3 separate regions of the Homo sapiens genome follow, and regions 2 and 3 are each linked to region 1. The links are contacts of gene promoters, found by promoter capture Hi-C in blood cells and fetal thymus (Javierre and others, 2016). All regions are on one chromosome and are shown on one strand. Each heading gives the region's core, a stretch centred on a gene start or on the middle of the fragment in contact. The rest is flanking DNA. Distances are from core to core; before and after follow the strand shown. Region 1 holds the start of NECAP2 (NECAP endocytosis associated 2). Region 2 has its middle 12 kb from the start of RNU1-2. Region 3 overlaps CROCC (ciliary rootlet coiled-coil, rootletin).

Region 1 (2,700 bases), core at 156-2,655:
TGTATGGCTGTAATCCCAGCTACTCGGGAGGCTGAGGCAGGAGAATCGCTTGAATCCGGGAGGCGGAGGTTGCAGTGAGCCGAGATCGCACCATTGCACTCTAGCCTGGACAACAAGAGGGAAACTCTGTCTCAAAAAAAAAAAAAAAAGACCCAACAGGAGATGGGGCTAGACGACCATCAATGGTTTGATGGTCCAACCACAGTTTGATGACAGAAAACAAATGTATTTTGGTTATTGTTGTTTTTGTTTTTATACTATTTTAAAATATGTCATGAATGTAATGTTCACTAACGCATCTTTTCACCATAAGATCAGCTATGAGCCCACGGTAACACAACTGGAAAGTAACAAGAGGAAATGTGGACGTTCCATCATTCTTGGGGTGCAGACCAATCCTGTATTTCCGAAAAACTTGGACAACCATCGCCTTCAAGAGCCACCCAGGCCCCCGCAAATACGAGCACTCCCCACCACCACTCAGTGGCACAAAATAGCCATAGGCCAGGTTGTCTGTATGAAGTGTATCTTTTTTCTTTTAATATTTTTCGTCGTTTTGATAGATAACGCATACAAAGAGTAGTAAAACGCAAACAGCACAAAAGGGAAAGGAAGTTTCCTTCCAAGGGCGGTTCCCCTCCCCTAGGGCAGTTTCCTGTGTTCCTTTGCAGAGATACTCAGTATGTTTACAAGCGTGTGTGTTTATTCGTCTCAGGTAGAGACCAGAGAAATATAGAAGGGGTCCTCCCAACTGCTCCAGGCTGTGATCAAGGGTGAAATTCGTGCGAAGGGATCTGGGTAGGAAGGGGTCCCTGGGCTTCGACCGTCACCTTAAAGCTCCCCGGGACCGGTCCTTTCAGCCGGCTCTGGGCTCCCTCCCCTCCTCTCGGGGATTTCCGTCTGTGATAGGGCACCTCCCCGCTTAAGGCTTTTCGAGGATCCCTTCAAGGCCACCGGTTAGCGCTGAAAGAGAAGCGTCTGTGACATCACCACCCCCGACCAAGTTTAGGGTACCCGGCAGCCCACCGGGGTCCCTAAGCGCTAGATACGGCTTTAACGCCCTCCCCGCCGCCAGGAGTCCCGTGCGTCGAACTGAGACGGGCGAAACTCTGGATCCACCTCCCTGCTCGGGCCTGGAACTGGAAGAAGCAGCAGCATTAGCTCCCCCTCGCCCCAAAACTGGCCAGGGCTGTCCTCGGTTCCCGCAGTGGGTGTGTCCGGGTGGCGGAGAAAGGGTTAAATTGGAGCTAGCCTGGTCTGGCGGTGGGTAGTCACCTGTAGCCACGGTTGGTAGCCCGCGGAGGGATGCGGTAGACGTGGACGTCAGGCTTGACACAGAGCACCGACTCGTACCCGCTCTCCTCCATCGCGACGCCTGGAGCCCACCGAACTTCCGGCGACTTCCACCGTTCCTCTGTCCGACGGACGGAAGCGGTGCGACTCTCTGACCAGGTTTCGGCTAGAGCGGCAGCTCGCGGGCCTCAGCACCGCCTCGTTTGTGCGCCCTCTGCTGGAAACCCGGCTCAAGACACGTGGCGGGCGACCTCCGGAGGCTTCTCCCTCCCTCCAGAGGCTTCTCCTTCCCTCCAGACACCCTCCGACGCAAAGAAAGCGCCCTGCGCCCGCCATGGACAGACCCCTCTGTAACCCGTGGTCTGGGTGTGGATCATCCCCATCGCTTCAGTTTCTTAGGCCTGGGGCCCAGTTGACCGAGAGGCAAAGCTGTAGCCCACCCTGCAGTATCTCTGTCCTCCAGCCTTTGCCTCGGCGCCTCCTCTGCCTGAATATCCTTCCCTCTCCTGACTGTAAGGCTCAGCTGGCACCTGACCCACCAGACTAAATAGATGCCATTACCCTACCACCCTCCATGCTTCCCCTAGGGGAACCCACTTATATGCTCAGGGCCCCGTGTGGCCAAACCTCAACAACGAGTTGTATTCAAAGAAGTAAAGTTTAGTAACACAAGTAATTTAAGAAGAATTCCAGGCCGGGCTTGGTAGCTCACGCCTGTAATCCCAGCACTTTGGGAGGCTGAGGCGGGCGGATCACCTGAGGTCAGGAGTTCGAGACCAGCCTGGCCAACATGGTGAAACCCCGTCTCTACTAAAAATACAAAAATTAGCCGGGCTTGGTGGCGTGTGTCTGTAGTCCTAGCTAGTTGGGAGACTGAGGCACTAGAATCGCTTGAACCCGGAATGCGGAAGTTGCAGTGAGCTGAAATTGTGCCACTGCACCTCAGCCTGGGTGACAGAGCGGGACTCTGTCTCAAAAAAAAAAAAAAAGAAGAAGAAGAATTCCAGTCTTAACTTCGATTTCTCCCAGAATATTCTGGGAGATACAATGTCTACCCTAGCCAAATTCTCAAAATCCCTCCTTCCCTACCATTCTCTCATTGAGTTGAGTGCCTGCAATGTGCCAGCCCCTATGTGGGGGTGAAGCTGATCCCAAACTTCTGATTCACTGAATACCCCAAACTTTCCCCACCCCTTCTTTCCTTTTCTCTCTCACTCTCCTTCTCCTTTTTACTTTTTTTTTTTTTTTTCTTCAGACAAAGTCTCACTCTGCCGCCCAGGCTGGAGTGCAGTGGTGCAATCTCGGCTCACTGCAACCTCCACCTCCCGGGTTCAAGCGATTCTCCTGCCTCAGCCTCCCGAGTAGCTGGGATTACAGGCACCCACCACCAAGCCTGGCTAGTTTTTG
Region 2 (2,700 bases), core at 55-2,554, 470 kb before region 1:
TTAAGTTCCACCGACAGTGAACTTAAAGTAAAATGTGCCCAACCTGAGGGTCAAACCTACCTGCTGACATGTAATTTGTGTTTATGAGACATTCTCAACAGCATTTGCTTTCCCTAGCATAGTGGTTTTCATGTTTTCCTCACACCTGAGTGTCTTAAGTGCAAAACCTGTCAGAAATCATTTCCTTTGCCAAAAGATACTTTTTTTTTTTTTGATATCAGTTCACTGCAACTTCCCCTTCCCATGTTCACAGGTTTCTCTTGCCTCAGCCTCTCGAGTAGCTGGGACTACAGGCCGGTGCCAACATACCTGGCTAATTTTTGTATTTTTCGTAGAGACAGAGTTTCGCCATGTTGGCCAGGCTGGTCTCGAACTCCTGACCTCAAGTAAAATGCCCACCTCTGCCTCCCAAAGTGTTGGGATTACAGGTGTAAGCCACCGTGCCCGGCCTGAAATACTCTTACTTTAAGGAAAAGTGCATTAAAAACAAACTTCTCAGTTGCATCTCTGGAATCCATAGAAAGCCAGGGAGAGACAATCAAGTGCTACAGGATCAAGTGCTAAACAGGGGAGGACAAAGCATGGCTTCCTAACTAGGAGTCAGGGCAAAGTTACCTGCTTTGGTTTCCAATGGAGACCGGAACTCGGTTCACCTGCAACAGGAGGACGCGGCCCAGAGGAGGCGGACTTTCTCTTCATGGTGCCTTCAGATAGGAAATCTCCTAGGATTTCTTTCTTTCCCTTTGATCTACTTCCAACGCTCCCTTTCTGTTTCTTCAGATGTTTTTTGGATCCCTAATGCGCAGGACCTAAGGGGCTGGTGCCTTTCCCTACCCTCCCTGCCTGGGTGTCTTCAGCACCCAAGCTCACCCAGAACATTACTGCCTGCCAGAGACAGTGAGGGGACCAAGGAGAGTGGCAGGTGCAGTGGGAACCACAGAGTCACCGTGTACCTGTGCTTTGTAGGCTCCTAGCAAATTGAATAAACGCCCCCTGAAGCTTCTCTGCAGGTCACAGGGAAGGGGAGGGTTGTTGCCCACCCAGTGGGAGAAGCGTCAAAAAGCATCAGGAGTATCTGGCCCTACCCCTGTGCCTGGAAGACAGACCTGGCTAGGCTGATTTTAATGGTTAGGCCCAAGGAAAAGGCCCAAGGGCGGCCCAAACCCCGACCCTGAGATTAAGGCTTTCAAATGTCTGATCGTTTTGATGTTGGTCAGTAGAATCCATCCCACCTTTATCAGGAGACTCCTTTGCCAAAATTCAGAGATCTGGGATTCCTGCTGGTTGCCACAGAGAAAGCCAATCACCGAGATGATTATTGCCAAGGAAGGCGCTTTAATAGGGTGCTGCAGTGGGGGAGATGAGAACTCAGTCTCAAATCCATCTCCCTGACCAACAAAACCAGAGGTTTATATGGCAGGGAAGAAATGTAACAATGTGTAAGAAAACAGGAACTAGGGAGGAGCAAGGAAGCAATCATGATGAATGAGGGGTCCCAGCATCTCATTGTCTGGATGAATTTCAGTTCTTTGATGGCTTTTTTGAGAGGCCTGAAGGTTGTTTCCTGAGGAAGGAACTCAGACGAAACAAATATTAAGTTTCAAGCTTTAAGACCAGCAGGGTCAATTTCTAGGTTTATCCAAAAAAGCTACATATGGGACTACTGGGTGGTTTTCAGACCAAGAAAGAAAAAGACTGTGCAGACCAAAGTCTGCAGTTAACCAAAGAAAAAACATAATTTTCTGACCAATAGGATGTATGGGGCCAGAGAATGACCAGCCTATAGAAGAACTGTTTTTTGTCCTGAGCATAGGGGAAGGATGAAGTTGCACCAACTAAGGTGGAATTAAGCTGCAGATGGGGAAAAATCTGGATTTTGGTTCAGAGCCCTGGGGTCTTCCTCAAAAGTCTCTTTCCTTGAAAGAGGAACCCTGTCTCGGTTTCTGCATCTCTCTGAGTCCTTTTGGAGGTTGAGGATGCTGAGGTCTTGGTGCTTGGCCCCCTCTAACCCTGAGTACTTCCCCTCCTGTGGGGTAACCTGGCCCAGTACCCAGGCCCCAGCTCTGGCGACCATTTCCCCCTACTTTGCTCCTAGCAAAGGCCATTTCTAGGTCAGTCGTGAGGTACAGGCAGAACGGGCAACTTCTTCTGAGATTTTTGGCCCTGGAAGGCCTTGAGCCCTGTGGTCCTGCAGAACTGCTGTCTCCCTCTTTTGGAGAAAGCAGGGAGGAAATGACCTGTGTGGGGGGAATTGTGAGCTGCACCTGCACAGAGGAGCTGAGGCAAGCAGGGCAGTTCTGGTCTGTCAATGTAAAGGACATTTATCATTCAAGAGGTTGGGCTGTTATTATTAATTTTGAATTTTGTCAATACAAACTGAAGGGAAATTTGTCTTCTTACTTGTAGGAACCTCACAAGACCACCCATCTTATATTCCAGGGAGAATTGCTGCGTATTACACAAACTCATAGGTGAGACTGCCGTTCTGACCTGCAGGCCTGGATGCCCTGCACAGGGGCACAGAGCACTGGCAAAGCCCTTCCCATACAAACAGCAAGCATGTTATGTCTACAACCCAACGGCACCAGTTCCAAGTACAATTTCTACTTGGCTGTATGAGCTGAGTACACGTTCCCCCCAGCACAGAAATCCTGCAAACTCCCATGAATGCTATAGTGAAAAGCAGGGGCTGGCCAGGTG
Region 3 (2,700 bases), core at 106-2,605, 480 kb before region 1:
GAAAGATCAGAACAATCTCGCTGACTGCCCACCAACCCAGCCCAACATGCCAGTGAGGGCCACAGGGGCAGGCACTGCCACCTGTGGCCATGGGGACAAGGGGGTGGCAGGGAAAGAGAATGTTGCCCAACTGCAGAGCCCTGGACCAAGGGTCTCATCCCAGGACCACCACTGACCTTGGGCCTATCATGCCCCTCTCCCGGACTTACTTTCCCTATCTGTGATGAGGTGATCTCTAGGCTCTGAAGTTCTCTGGGGACCCACCCTCCAGGAAAGGCCTTTGAGGTCATTCCTGTTCCACCCCTGCCTCCAGGTGGGGCCTCATTCAAACCATGGTGGATAGAGGACAACTGAAGCAGCGGGCGCCCTCTGCGTGCCATTTGGGCCCCCACTAACCACAGGAGGGAGCTTTCTAGACTAACCCAGACCCCCTGTGCTGCAGTCCCAGCCCCAGCAGCTGTGTCCCAGCAGAGGAGGAACCTGCTACCTCCCACCTCTTCCCTTCCCTGCCAACCTGGGGGCAGGGCTAGCTTCAGAAGGTGGCATTTAAGAGGCGGCCCTGGGGGTGTGGCACTGTGCCATGCATGGACCAAAAGAAAGGGGTGCCTGGCTCAGGGCCCCATCACCACCCACAATTCATGACTGGGGCCAGCGTGCCCTACACACCCGCTGCAGACCCTGGGGAAACGAGCTCTCCACTGTCCTCATGCCAGGGGCCACTGCGGGCCGCCTACTCTGCTCCTCTACAAGTCCCAACTAGTCGTGGGTTTGTCCAGCCAGGCAAATCCCAGGACACGGGCACACCCCACAGTCATACACAGGAACACACACCCTCCTGCCAATGCGGGCTCCAGCCTGGACAAGTCCAGCTCAGGGGTCCCATGCCAACCCTAGCTCTGCCACTACCACACAGGGGACCCTGGGCCAGCCCCTGCCTCTCTGGGTCCCTTCCAACTTTGTGGGGGCCAGCTGTGCCCTGAAATCCCTAGCCCAGTGTCTCTTCCCATACACAGGAAATGAAACTTCAGAACTTTGTTTCTAGACTGGGTTAGTTTAGAAACCAAACAGAGCCCTGGGCTGGGAGTTGGAAGACCTGGTGTCTAACTTTAACTGGCTGTGTGCCCCCAGCATGGTGCTTCCCCTCCCTGAGCCTCTGTTTTCTCCTCTGTTACATGGGCATCATAATGGTCCCGACCTTGGTGTATTAAATGTGAAACACTCAGCACGCGCCTGGCACATAGTAGGCACTCAATAAACAGTAGCTACTGTTAATACGTTATTGCCACCTGCATGCCTCTCATCTGCACACATACACTCTGTCCCAGCTGCGAGTGTCCCTTACCAATCTTCAGCCACCACCAACTTCCCAGGGCCACCTCCCGGCCACCCGGAGGCCCAAAGCAGACAGTGCATCAAGAGCATCCCGCACCCCTCGCACCGGCTCACACCCAGCTCCCGCCCCACACCCTGGGACCCCCACAAGCCTGCAGCACGGGTGATGTGAATCCTGCCTGGACATGAAGACAGGCCTGCTTCTCCTTCCTTCCCTGCCTGGAACTCATTCCAATAGGCAGTGGCGGCAGGTCTTGTGGCTGCCCCAGATGGGCTGCAGAACACCGCGGGTGCCCACACCAGCCTCGAGCCAGCATCCAGCCACCGCCTCAACCCCAAGGCCCGTGGCAATGGGAGATGCCCAGAAACTCAAGGGGCAGGAATCTTTAGGGATCTCATTCTCCGTGTCCCACACCCCTAACAGGCCTGGGACAGATGGGAACAAAATACCCCTGGTGCCAGGCACTTTATTCTATTATCTCCTTGATTCCTACAATTCCACGTCCCATTACAATCCCCACTACAGAAAACAGGCTTAAAGAGCATAGTGATTTGCTCAACGCCACTCAAGGTGGCAGAGCCTCAATCCAAGCCCAGGCCAACCTGACTCCAGGGCCCATCTTTTGCCCCGTGTGTGGGCCTGGTCTAGATGCCTCCCTGCCCTTGAACGAGGGGAACCCTGGCCTAGTCCACCACCTGGGCGGCACCCACCCTCTCGCTGACCGCATTGTACTTAATGGCGAGCTCATCGCGCTCGGCACGGCTCTGGGCCAGCAGGTCCTCCACGCGGGACAGCTCCTGCTGCAGCAGCTGGTTCTCCTCCTGCAGCGACAGCAGCGATGCCATCTCTGTGGCCGGCAGCAGGACTGGCAAGGGACAGTGGGCACATGGTTGGCTTCTGGGTCCAGTGGGACATCCTCCCCCCAACAGGGAGGGCAAGAAAACCATCCAGGCCCCTGGGAGGAGTCCAGATGGGAATGGCTGCAGCACCAGGCCTGCAAACAGAGCTGAGAACAGGGAGGAAGGCAAGGAGGGGATACAAAGCTGGACGTAAAGTGAACACAACTCCAGCTAAAGTGTGGCCCAGCAGGTTTGGGAGGTGCAGGAGAGACACTCAGTCTAGGAGCCAGGAGACCCCTGAGTTCTTGCTCCCTCCTTTTCCAATTAGTCTTCTTCTCCGGGGCCTCAGATTTACTTATCTGTAATATGGGTGGGGCGGGCACGGACTCACGCCTGTAATCCCAGCACTTTGGGAGTCGAGATAGGAGGATCACCTGAGGTCAGGAGTTTGAGACTAGCCTGGCCAACACGGCGAAGCCCTGTCTCTACTAAAAATACAAAAATTAGCTGGGCATGGTGGTGTATGCC

Evidence for each region. The method cuts DNA at HindIII sites, captures the fragments that hold promoters and counts their contacts. A CHiCAGO score of 5 or more calls a contact.
Region 2: a contact is called between a fragment that was not itself captured here and the fragment with the promoter of NECAP2 in region 1, in 1 of 17 cell types (naive B cells). The highest score is 5.8, in naive B cells.
Region 3: a contact is called between a fragment that was not itself captured here and the fragment with the promoter of NECAP2 in region 1, in 5 of 17 cell types (total CD8 T cells, naive CD8 T cells, M1 macrophages and 2 more). The highest score is 7.6, in total CD8 T cells.

The regions. Positions count from the first base shown.
Region 1 is chr1:16,439,429-16,442,128 of GRCh38, reverse strand. NECAP2 (NECAP endocytosis associated 2) reads right to left here and starts at 1,405. Exons shown (of 8, transcript NM_018090.5): 1 at 1,276-1,405. The coding sequence starts at 1,367. The HindIII fragment of the contact is 8,327 bases long and covers 1-2,700 here.
Region 2 is chr1:16,906,508-16,909,207 of GRCh38, reverse strand. No RefSeq gene overlaps it. Among named protein-coding and RNA genes, the nearest start is that of RNU1-2, 12 kb to the right of the region's middle. The HindIII fragment of the contact is 606 bases long and covers 1,002-1,607 here.
Region 3 is chr1:16,923,823-16,926,522 of GRCh38, reverse strand. It overlaps CROCC (ciliary rootlet coiled-coil, rootletin), which reads right to left. Exons shown (of 37, transcript NM_014675.5): 3 at 2,044-2,198. Among named protein-coding and RNA genes, the nearest start is that of CROCC, 3.2 kb to the right of the region's middle. RefSeq lists enhancers at 1-238, 2,068-2,678. The HindIII fragment of the contact is 6,523 bases long and covers 1-2,700 here.